Linked DNA regions of Homo sapiens: region 1 is linked to region 2. Evidence: promoter capture Hi-C in human tissues and cell types (Jung and others, 2019). All regions are on one chromosome and are shown on one strand. Each heading gives the region's core, a stretch centred on a gene start or on the middle of the fragment in contact. The rest is flanking DNA. Distances are from core to core; before and after follow the strand shown. Region 1 holds the start of CASP9 (caspase 9). Region 2 holds the start of PDPN (podoplanin).

Evidence for each region. The method cuts DNA at HindIII sites, captures the fragments that hold promoters and counts their contacts. A contact is called where the count stands out against the background at its distance.
Region 1: a contact is called between the fragment with the promoter of CASP9 here and the fragment with the promoter of PDPN in region 2, in 1 of the 25 tissues and cell types used here (neural progenitor cells).

Annotation. Positions count from the first base shown.
Region 1 is chr1:15,521,628-15,525,701 of GRCh38, reverse strand. CASP9 (caspase 9) reads left to right here and starts at 1,487. Exons shown (of 9, transcript NM_001229.5): 1 at 1,487-1,633. The coding sequence starts at 1,502. RefSeq lists silencers at 408-847, 1,128-1,517. The HindIII fragment of the contact is 36,637 bases long and covers 1-4,074 here.
Region 2 is chr1:13,581,633-13,586,061 of GRCh38, reverse strand. PDPN (podoplanin) reads right to left here and starts at 2,230. Exons shown (of 6, transcript NM_006474.5): 1 at 1,962-2,230. The coding sequence starts at 2,028. RefSeq lists an enhancer at 1,789-2,327. The HindIII fragment of the contact is 13,144 bases long and covers 1-4,429 here.

The sequences.
Region 1 (4,074 bases), core at 238-2,737, 1.9 Mb before region 2:
TGAAAAGTGGCTAGCACGATGCCTGGGACTTAGCAAATGCTCAGTAAACAGAAACGATTATTTTTGAAATGTGAAAATGAACCGTTCAGAACGATGGGAGTTTACAGGACTAGATTTCTGCCGTTTTTTTTTTTTTCTGTGTGGGAGGTGTTAGGGTGGGAGGGAGGGAAGAGGGAATGGAAGACTGTGTAAGGTGGGCTTGGTTGGATCAGACACTCGAGTTTGGAACAGTCAACTGCGATCTGGGCACAAGGGCGGTGAGGGGAGCTTATGGTTTTACTTGGGGTGGAGGAGGGGGCTAAGGGGAAGCCATGCCCCGGAGGAGGTTGAATGGGCGGGACAGATCACGGCTCCACTCATGGTTTCCCTCTTGCTGGAAGTGTGACGACTCCCTCCGGATCTCTGTAAAAGCGGGGCTATAGTGAATTCTGGCGAAGGGCCCGCGGTGGACCAGGAACTGGTGCCAGAATTGCAAAAGGGCACCTGCGCCCGGAGTGGGGAGGTGATGCGGGGGCGGGGCGGGGCCCTGGGGGCGGGGCGAGTCGCGGAGGTGCCGCCTTGGGGCGGGGCGGTGACAGAAGGATGGATCCTGGGGGTGAGGATTGACTTTGGGGGCGGGGCGAGAGTGCGAACTGGAGTCTGAGGCTGAGCGGTGACGCAAGGACGATTCTGAGGGTGGAGCGAGGGGAGGGGATTGGCTCTTGGAGGCGGGGCGGTGGCACGAGGCTAGCCCTTGGGGGCGGGGCGGTGGCGCAAGATTGACCTTGGGGGCGGGGTGGGGGCGTGGGTTGAATCCTGGGGGCGGGGCGGTGGCGCGGAATGGATTCTGGGGTCGGCGCGAGGCGCTGAGGTGCGTCCTGAGGGCGGGGCGATGACGCAGAGCGAATCCTGGGGGCGGGGCGAGACCTTCTAGATGCGTCCCGGGGAGTGGGCGGTGACGCGGTGGCAGGTTCTGGGGACAGGCGGTGACCCCAGAATTGACCCTGGGGACAGGGCGAGGCGCGGAGGCGTCCTGAAGGCGAGGCGGTGACGCAAGAGCGAATCCTTGGGGCGGGGCGAGGCGTTGGAGATGCGTCCTGCGGGCGGGACGGTAACGCGGGGGCGGGGCGGTGACGTGAGGTCAGTGCGGGGATACGGGGCGGGTTCTGGGGCGGGGACGCAGTGGTGGATTCTGGAGCGGGGCGGTGACGTGGGGCGGGTTCTGGGGCGGGGCGGTGACGCGGAGCGTGTTCTGGGGCGGCGCGGTGATGGGAGGCTTGGCCCTGGGGGCGGGGCGAGGCGCAGAGGTGCGTCCTGAGGGCGGGGCGGTGACGCAAGAGCGACTCCTGGGGGCGGGGCGAGGCCTTGGAGATGCGTCCGGAGGCGGTGGGGAGCGAAGACTGACCCGGGGCCGTGACGCGGGGGCAGGCCCTGGGGCGGGGGCGGGTCCTGGGGACTGGGGCGGGCGGCCGAGGCCCGGAAGCGGACTGAGGCGGCCTGGAGTCTTAGTTGGCTACTCGCCATGGACGAAGCGGATCGGCGGCTCCTGCGGCGGTGCCGGCTGCGGCTGGTGGAAGAGCTGCAGGTGGACCAGCTCTGGGACGCCCTGCTGAGCCGCGAGCTGTTCAGGCCCCATATGATCGAGGACATCCAGGTGCGCCCCCGGCCCCCTGTCCCCGCGCTGCACGGCCGGGTCCCCACGCCCCTCGAGGAGGCGTTGTGCGGGAGCCTAGCCTTCCCTGTGGCTTCAAACCCCTCAGCGGAGCCAAAGAATCCCAAACACCTCTTAGTCGGGTGTTCGCTAAAGCGATTCCATGCCATACTCAGTCAGCGTACACTGTTAGTGCTTGTGTTTCTTGTGTAAAGGAAAAATGTGAGACACATCTTGAGAACTTTGAATAAGAAACAATTCATGAATTGGAGAACATCAGACTGAAAGAGCTTTAGTGTTGCAATGACAAAACGTCAGAGGCAAGTATTTATTGGGAAAATGTGGAAGCAAAATAAAGAAATTATTTGATTGGTTTGCAGTTACAAAATTGCCTTTTTTTTTTAAGGTCTGTTAATTGACTGCTTTTGGCTGGTCTTAAGTTTTATTTCTCTCTAACATAAGCATTTATCAGATATGACCCAAGTTAAATTTTGCTTATGTTTGCAGTTTAAGCAAGATTTAGGTCACTTAGGATACCTGATTGGTTTTGTCTGCTCAGGAATTCTTCATGGTTGGTCTCCATTTTAATTTACGTTAATACTTGCGAGGAAGGAGGCGTGTGCGTTTTTACTTTTCTAGCATAGAGGTTTCGGGAACCCACTTTGGCATCAGGCTGCCTGGCAGCGTGTTCTTGGGCCAGTCACTTACCCTCTTTGAGCCACAGTTTCTGGGCTGTGAAATGGGAATAAGAATAATACTGTCATAAGGACTAAATGAAATAACGGATGTGAAACTGTAGTGCTAGGCACAGAGCGGGGGATCAGCGTACCCTGCCCTCTTTGGCCAGCCCCTTCTGTGTTCAGTTTATGTTTTGTTAAGAGGTTTTGGAAATGAGGGGACCTGATGCAGAATGGAGAATAATGAAGTCAAACATTTGAGGTTTTGTTTAAAAGCACTTTCCCATCTTTGTCTCATTTGACCCTCATCACAGGCCTGTGAGGATGCAGGAGATATTTCCTACCATGAGGTGCAGTAGGTGTGAGTGGCTGGCTGGATATCCCTGGCCAGTGCCCTGGCCCAGGGAAAGAGTCTTTAAATAATTGAGTATCATATGAGTAATTATTCATTAATAATAAAATAAGTTTTGTGCCTTCTGTGTGGCCCCTACTGGGGAACAGTAATGGTTTGAGGCCACAGTCCTTGCCTTCAGGAATGTTCACGGGGATCACAAACTCAAATGCCCATGGAGGACCAATGGATGGGCGTCATAGTGGATAGCCTTTGCACTGCCCTCCGTCTCCAGCTGAGTATGGCCATATCAACAAATGGCCCAGTATTGCCACATCTTACACTTATTTTGAGGCAGGGTCTCACTCTTGCCCAGCCTGGAGTGCAGGGATGAGATCATGGCTCACTGCGACCTTGACCTCCTGGGCTTAAGTGGTCTTCCTGCCTCAGCCTTTAGAGCAGCTGGGACTTTAGGCACATGCCACCATGCCTGGCTAATTAAAAAAAATTTTTTTTTTGTACAGATAGGAGTCTTGCTATGTTGCCTAGATGAGTCTCAAACTCTTGGCCTCAAGTGATTCTCCTGCCTCAGTGTTGGGATTACAGGTGTGAGCCACTGTACCCGGCCCAGCTTTCACATCTTAAAAAAGAAGCTGAAAATCTTGATTCCTCTGTCAAATTCCCTGGCTTAAAATGTTAGCAACAAATTCAGAAATTTTTTAAGAACCTTGTGGGAACCACAGGTTGCCATTTTGCCATTCAGTATGGCTGAAAAACAGGCAGGTTTTGGAACCAGTTGGATCTGGGCTCTCATCCTGGCCTTGTTACATATTAGCAAGTTGTAAAAAACCACAACCAATGAGCCAAACAAACAGAAAAACCCTATGACTCAGTTTCCCTGAAATTTTTTACCCTAAAAAGTTGGGAAGTTCTAATTTAACTCTATAAAGTTATTGAGGGAGAAAAAGATGAAACAATGCATTTAACACAGTGTTGACCTCCTGGAGTGTTCAGCAAATGTGGAGAGAAACCTAAACACCACCATCTATTTGCATGTAGCCAACTGTTCTGCTAGTGAGACTTACCTTCTCAGTGGCACTGTAGGTCTGTGCTGTTCCCAACAGTAGCCATTAGCCACATGTCGTTAAAGGTAAATTTGAAGTAATTAAAATTAAATAAAACTAAAAATTGGTAGGGTCAAGCCTTACAGGGCCTGTGGGTTTTTCTCCTCGTGTGCGGAGATGAGAGATCGTAGAAATAAAGACACAGGAGAAAGAGATAGAAAAAAAGACAGCTGGGCCCGGGGGACCACTACCACCTAGACGTGGAGACAGGGTAGTGGCCCCGAATGCCTGGCTGCGCTGTTATTGGATATAAGGCAAGGGGACAGGGTAAGGAGGGTGAATCTTCTAAGTGATTGATAAGGTGAAGCAAGT
Region 2 (4,429 bases), core at 981-3,480:
TGGAAAAAAATGCCAGATGTGTGGACAACAGACCTCCTTTGAATCCACTAACACCCAAAGGGATGACACATGGGACCAGATTATAAAACTGAACCAGATTATAACCCTGGAGGAGGGAAACCCAGTAGGGCGTAGGATCTTATGAAAAGGATCATAAAATTCATCACCATAATTACCCCCCAGCCCAGCTCCCCAACAAAAGCCCACAATAGCTTCGCTCAATGATGTTATTCATCCATATTCAAGTCGCCTCGCTCATTATTCTCAGACAAAAACCCTGCTGGGCCTCTGCTCCTCTGGCAGCCAGGCAACTCAGCACCCACCCTCACTCAGCCAGCCCCGCATACCACTTCTTTCTTTAGTAGTGGAGTTTCCAGCACCAACGATGGTTTTTCGGTTTTAACGCCATCTTTTAGGAGTACCTTTGACATTCAGGAGCCGGCTGAAGGGAATCACAGCTAAAGCTTCCCTGGGCAAAAACAAAGGATGTTACCCAGCAGCTTTTTCTTTAGCAGGGCTGAGATGCTGAAGTGAGGGCGCTCCCTTGCTTTGCCCTGGTGAGCACAAAACGGTGTCATTTGCACATTGTCTCGCCAAAAAGGAAATGTAACTGAAAATACAGAACTGTATATATTCCAGTGGAAAGAGAAGTTCCAAAGATAGGACTGCTACGAATAACCCACGGCCCCTATAAAAAGAGTTGCTCAGTCCCTTTGAAGCAGACAGCACAGCATAGAGCAGAACTCTGTCATTTCCCTGAGATTGGGTATTTTTGTCTGTGTGGACCATTGTAGGAGGCCAGGTTAGGCGCACCCCTCCTGCAAACCGCTCCCTCTCCAAGAAGTATTCCTCAGGGCCTAGGCCTACCTTGATCCTCAATTTTTGGAAAATGTTTACTTTTCACAGCATAACTCAGCAACCTCCAGCCCCAAAGATCACGAGTTAGGTTACAATTCCTTCAACCAACATTTAGTGAGCAACTACTATGTGCCAGGCATTGTTTTGGCCGTGGGGAATCATGGCTGGATGTAGCTGCGTCCTGCAGAACATATGTTCTATTGAGGAAATATAAAAATAAAAACCCAAGAAAAGAAAACAAAATGTTGACAGATGTCAATGGAGACCACCAACACAGCAACCCAGCGGGAAGAGGTAAGGCTCCAGGAGAGGACAAAGGGTAATGGAAGCTGTGGACGCCCCCACCCCAACATGGGATACAAAATATTTAAAGCCTAAGGAGTCACCAACAGACATTCAGCCACTGATGTTGTTGCCCAAGATGAACACGTGGCTCAAACCCACTTAAACCTCAATGTTCGTAACGCGTAACAATCCTCATGCACTCACACTCCTCGGAAGCCTCCACTTGGATCCTTTCCACACACACTATCCTCTCTAAAGAGGATAAAGGAGGCCTCTTCCAGTCCAGTGACGGGGTGCTGAGTGTGTCCAACAGGCAGGGCGCCAGACTAGGTAGTCCCAAGGGGGACCAGGGCCACCGCAGGGCGGGGAACCCTCCCCTTGGCCCAAGCCCTCCTGAACGTCCCTCCTGATTCTACGAGGCCAGCTTCTCCCGAGGCGTGCGTATTCCTCCAACACACCGCTCTATGGGAAGGAAACCCCAGCCACTGCTGCCAGCAAGCGGGGCTGCCTACTGTGAACCTTCCACCCGATCTCTCTGGTGCTGCCGACTCGGAGGGAGGCCCCCTGTGCTGCCCACCTCGCAGCCTGTGGATTCCGGGGCTCCTCCCGGCACACCCGCGCAGCTGCGTCTTTGGGACCTGGCACCGACTAAGCCGCTGCCTCTCCTCCTCCGGCGCTCAGCCGCCTGACACGCACACACCCTCAGCTCCCCCGCGCTCCCCTGGACAACCTCGAATACCAGGCCCGGGCATTCCAGCAAGTCTCTGCTCGCTCGTCCCCATCAGCGACGGCAGGAAGCCACTTGCGCTGGGTCTTACCTCCTTCTGCCAGGACCCAGAGCGACGCGCTTCCCAAAACGAAGAGCAGAGCTGACACCTTCCACATCGTTCCCGTTGAGTTGTTGCTCTCCTGGGGGCCGAGCAGCAAGATTCTGAGCTGGGGGAAAATTAAAAAGCACCGCGGCCACAGGCCCAGCCTGGAGGAGCGCGACGGTGGGGGGGCCGGAGGGGTGGGAGCAGGAGCCCCGGAGAGGGAGGGTGCCCGAGCTTCCCAGACCCTAGGCAGCCGGACAGCAAACTTTGCAGTTGAGAACTTTCCGAGCGGAGTCAGCATTTATCTCTCCCGAGGAGGCGGGGGAGCGGGGTCGGCCGCAAGGTGGTCTCCGTCCGGGCGCGCTAGGCCCGCCCTCGGGCTCTGTTTGGCCGGCGCCAAAACGATGATCTCAGGCCAGGTTTAAAGTTACAGGGCCGCAGCTGCGGGGGCCGCCAGGACTGCGGGCCCTGGCAAAATGGGCTTTTATTCTGCTCAACAACAGGAGGGAAAGGGACCACATGCAACAAACGGGGTTTTAAAAATTATATATAAATTTTAAAAAACCTATATTTATTATTATTATTTTTTTAAGAGTAAGGCACAAGTCTATGTTTTTCTTGTTATGGGCAGAAGTGAGAAGTAAACTGTTTCTTGAGTGGCCAGTAGTTTTAGAACCAAGCATGGGGTTTTTCCTGTAAATATTGAATTTGATGGCTTAAAAACAAAAAAAGTTGGCCGTCATCTGGGTGGGCCAGAGGCGGCCCGCGCTGGTCAATTGCGCCCTTGTCCCGGGGACCGGAGCGGGCGGGCTCCGGGGGGCTGCCCCAGAGCTGGCTGGTGGGGGAGTTTGGCAGACCGGGTGGCTTTGGCAGTTTTGAAAAAGAGGCTGAACTCCATCCGCCTCTGCCGACCCGGGGATCCAGCGCTGCGATGCTGTGGCCCACCGACGTGCGCAGTTGGATTAGGCCGGGCCAAGCGGTGACCCGTCTGGTCGCCAAACCTGTGTCCCCTTCCAGGCCTGGTTCACCCTCTTTATTCCTGAGTTTGCTCCCATAATCCTCACTTTACTGGTTTAAGCGATCTTGCCTTGATCTCAGGTACCAGATATCAGCAACCAGAGAACTTACGTCTTTTACTTTAATTCCTTCTGAATTGCTGGAATTTAAAAAAATAAGAACAGGAGTTTGGGAAGTGGTCTCTGCTCCACTCCCAGATGCCACAAATTCCATTCAACAAAAGAACCTGAAGACTAACGCTGTCTCAAAGCTCCACATTGCGTGAAAATTGTTTTCAGATGCTTATCTTTGACCCCTCCCCATTATAAATTTACTTTCTAAGAATCACAGGAGAGATTGTTTTAAATAAATGCCCAGTTTCCTGGGTTCCACCCCAAACTCATTAATCAGACCTTTTCGGAATTCCTATTTTAAACCAGTGTCGCTGGAGAACTTGTCCCCATGAACATTTGGCAAACCTTGCCCTTCATCATAGCTTCTCAGCCAGATCTACCTGGGGCACTGGTTATGCAGGTGCAATTCTGTTGTGGGATAGGGAGAGATTCTGCATTTCTAAAGATCTCCCAGGTAACGTCTTGTCCTGGGGCTACAAACAGGAGCTGAGCACCTGAACCTAGAAGATGAGGGGTAGCGGCAACACCCCTAGAGCCAAGGAGTTGGAAATGTAAAGAGAAAACTCGTGATACAGATACTCTTTCTTGAACTGACTTCCCCATCTTGGAGATGCATTTTATGACTCTAGTGTCAATAATGTCTGTTGACAGGAGGAATAGTGCATTGTCTGTTGAGCCTGTTAGATGGAGAATAGATGCACATCTATTCTGCTTATGTGTAACTCCAAGGTCACACACAGAAAGAAAGATGGCCCGCTTTATTCAAAAAGATTGAAACACAGTGAAGCCTAGGTGGGGGAGATTGGGTTACATGCAACTAATTTAGAGGGATGCTGAGGCTAGGTCATGATTCAAGGACACCTGCCTTCTATCCCACACCCCCGGATGTGTCTAGAATCTAGAAGGTTGGTCACATGACCTTTTGATCAGGATGGAGGAGTGGGAGGTAATAAGGAATTGCATTCAGCTGGGGGTCCTGGGGTGGGGAGAGGGGCCAGGATGAAGGAGTTAGTGGATCGGCTCTGGGTGCTGTTGGTCTGAAAACCTAGAGAGAAAAGCTGGGTCTTGGGAGGGGGAACCTGAAGACCAGAGGGAAGAAAGAACTCACCCTCCTGGACCAGATAGAGCCAGCAGCTCATGAGAGAAGGAATATGGGCCTTGGGCAGCGAGACTCGGTTAGCTAAAGGAGCTGAAGTGAAACACAGGGGATCTGGAAGCATGAGACCCTGCTCAGCTGAGGGGAAGAGGGAAAGAAGGAGGGTATGTGGCTCCATTCTTGGCAAACAGCTTAAGCTCAGAAAGCCATGGCCATGAATGATGATGCGTTACTGGTGAGATAACAGC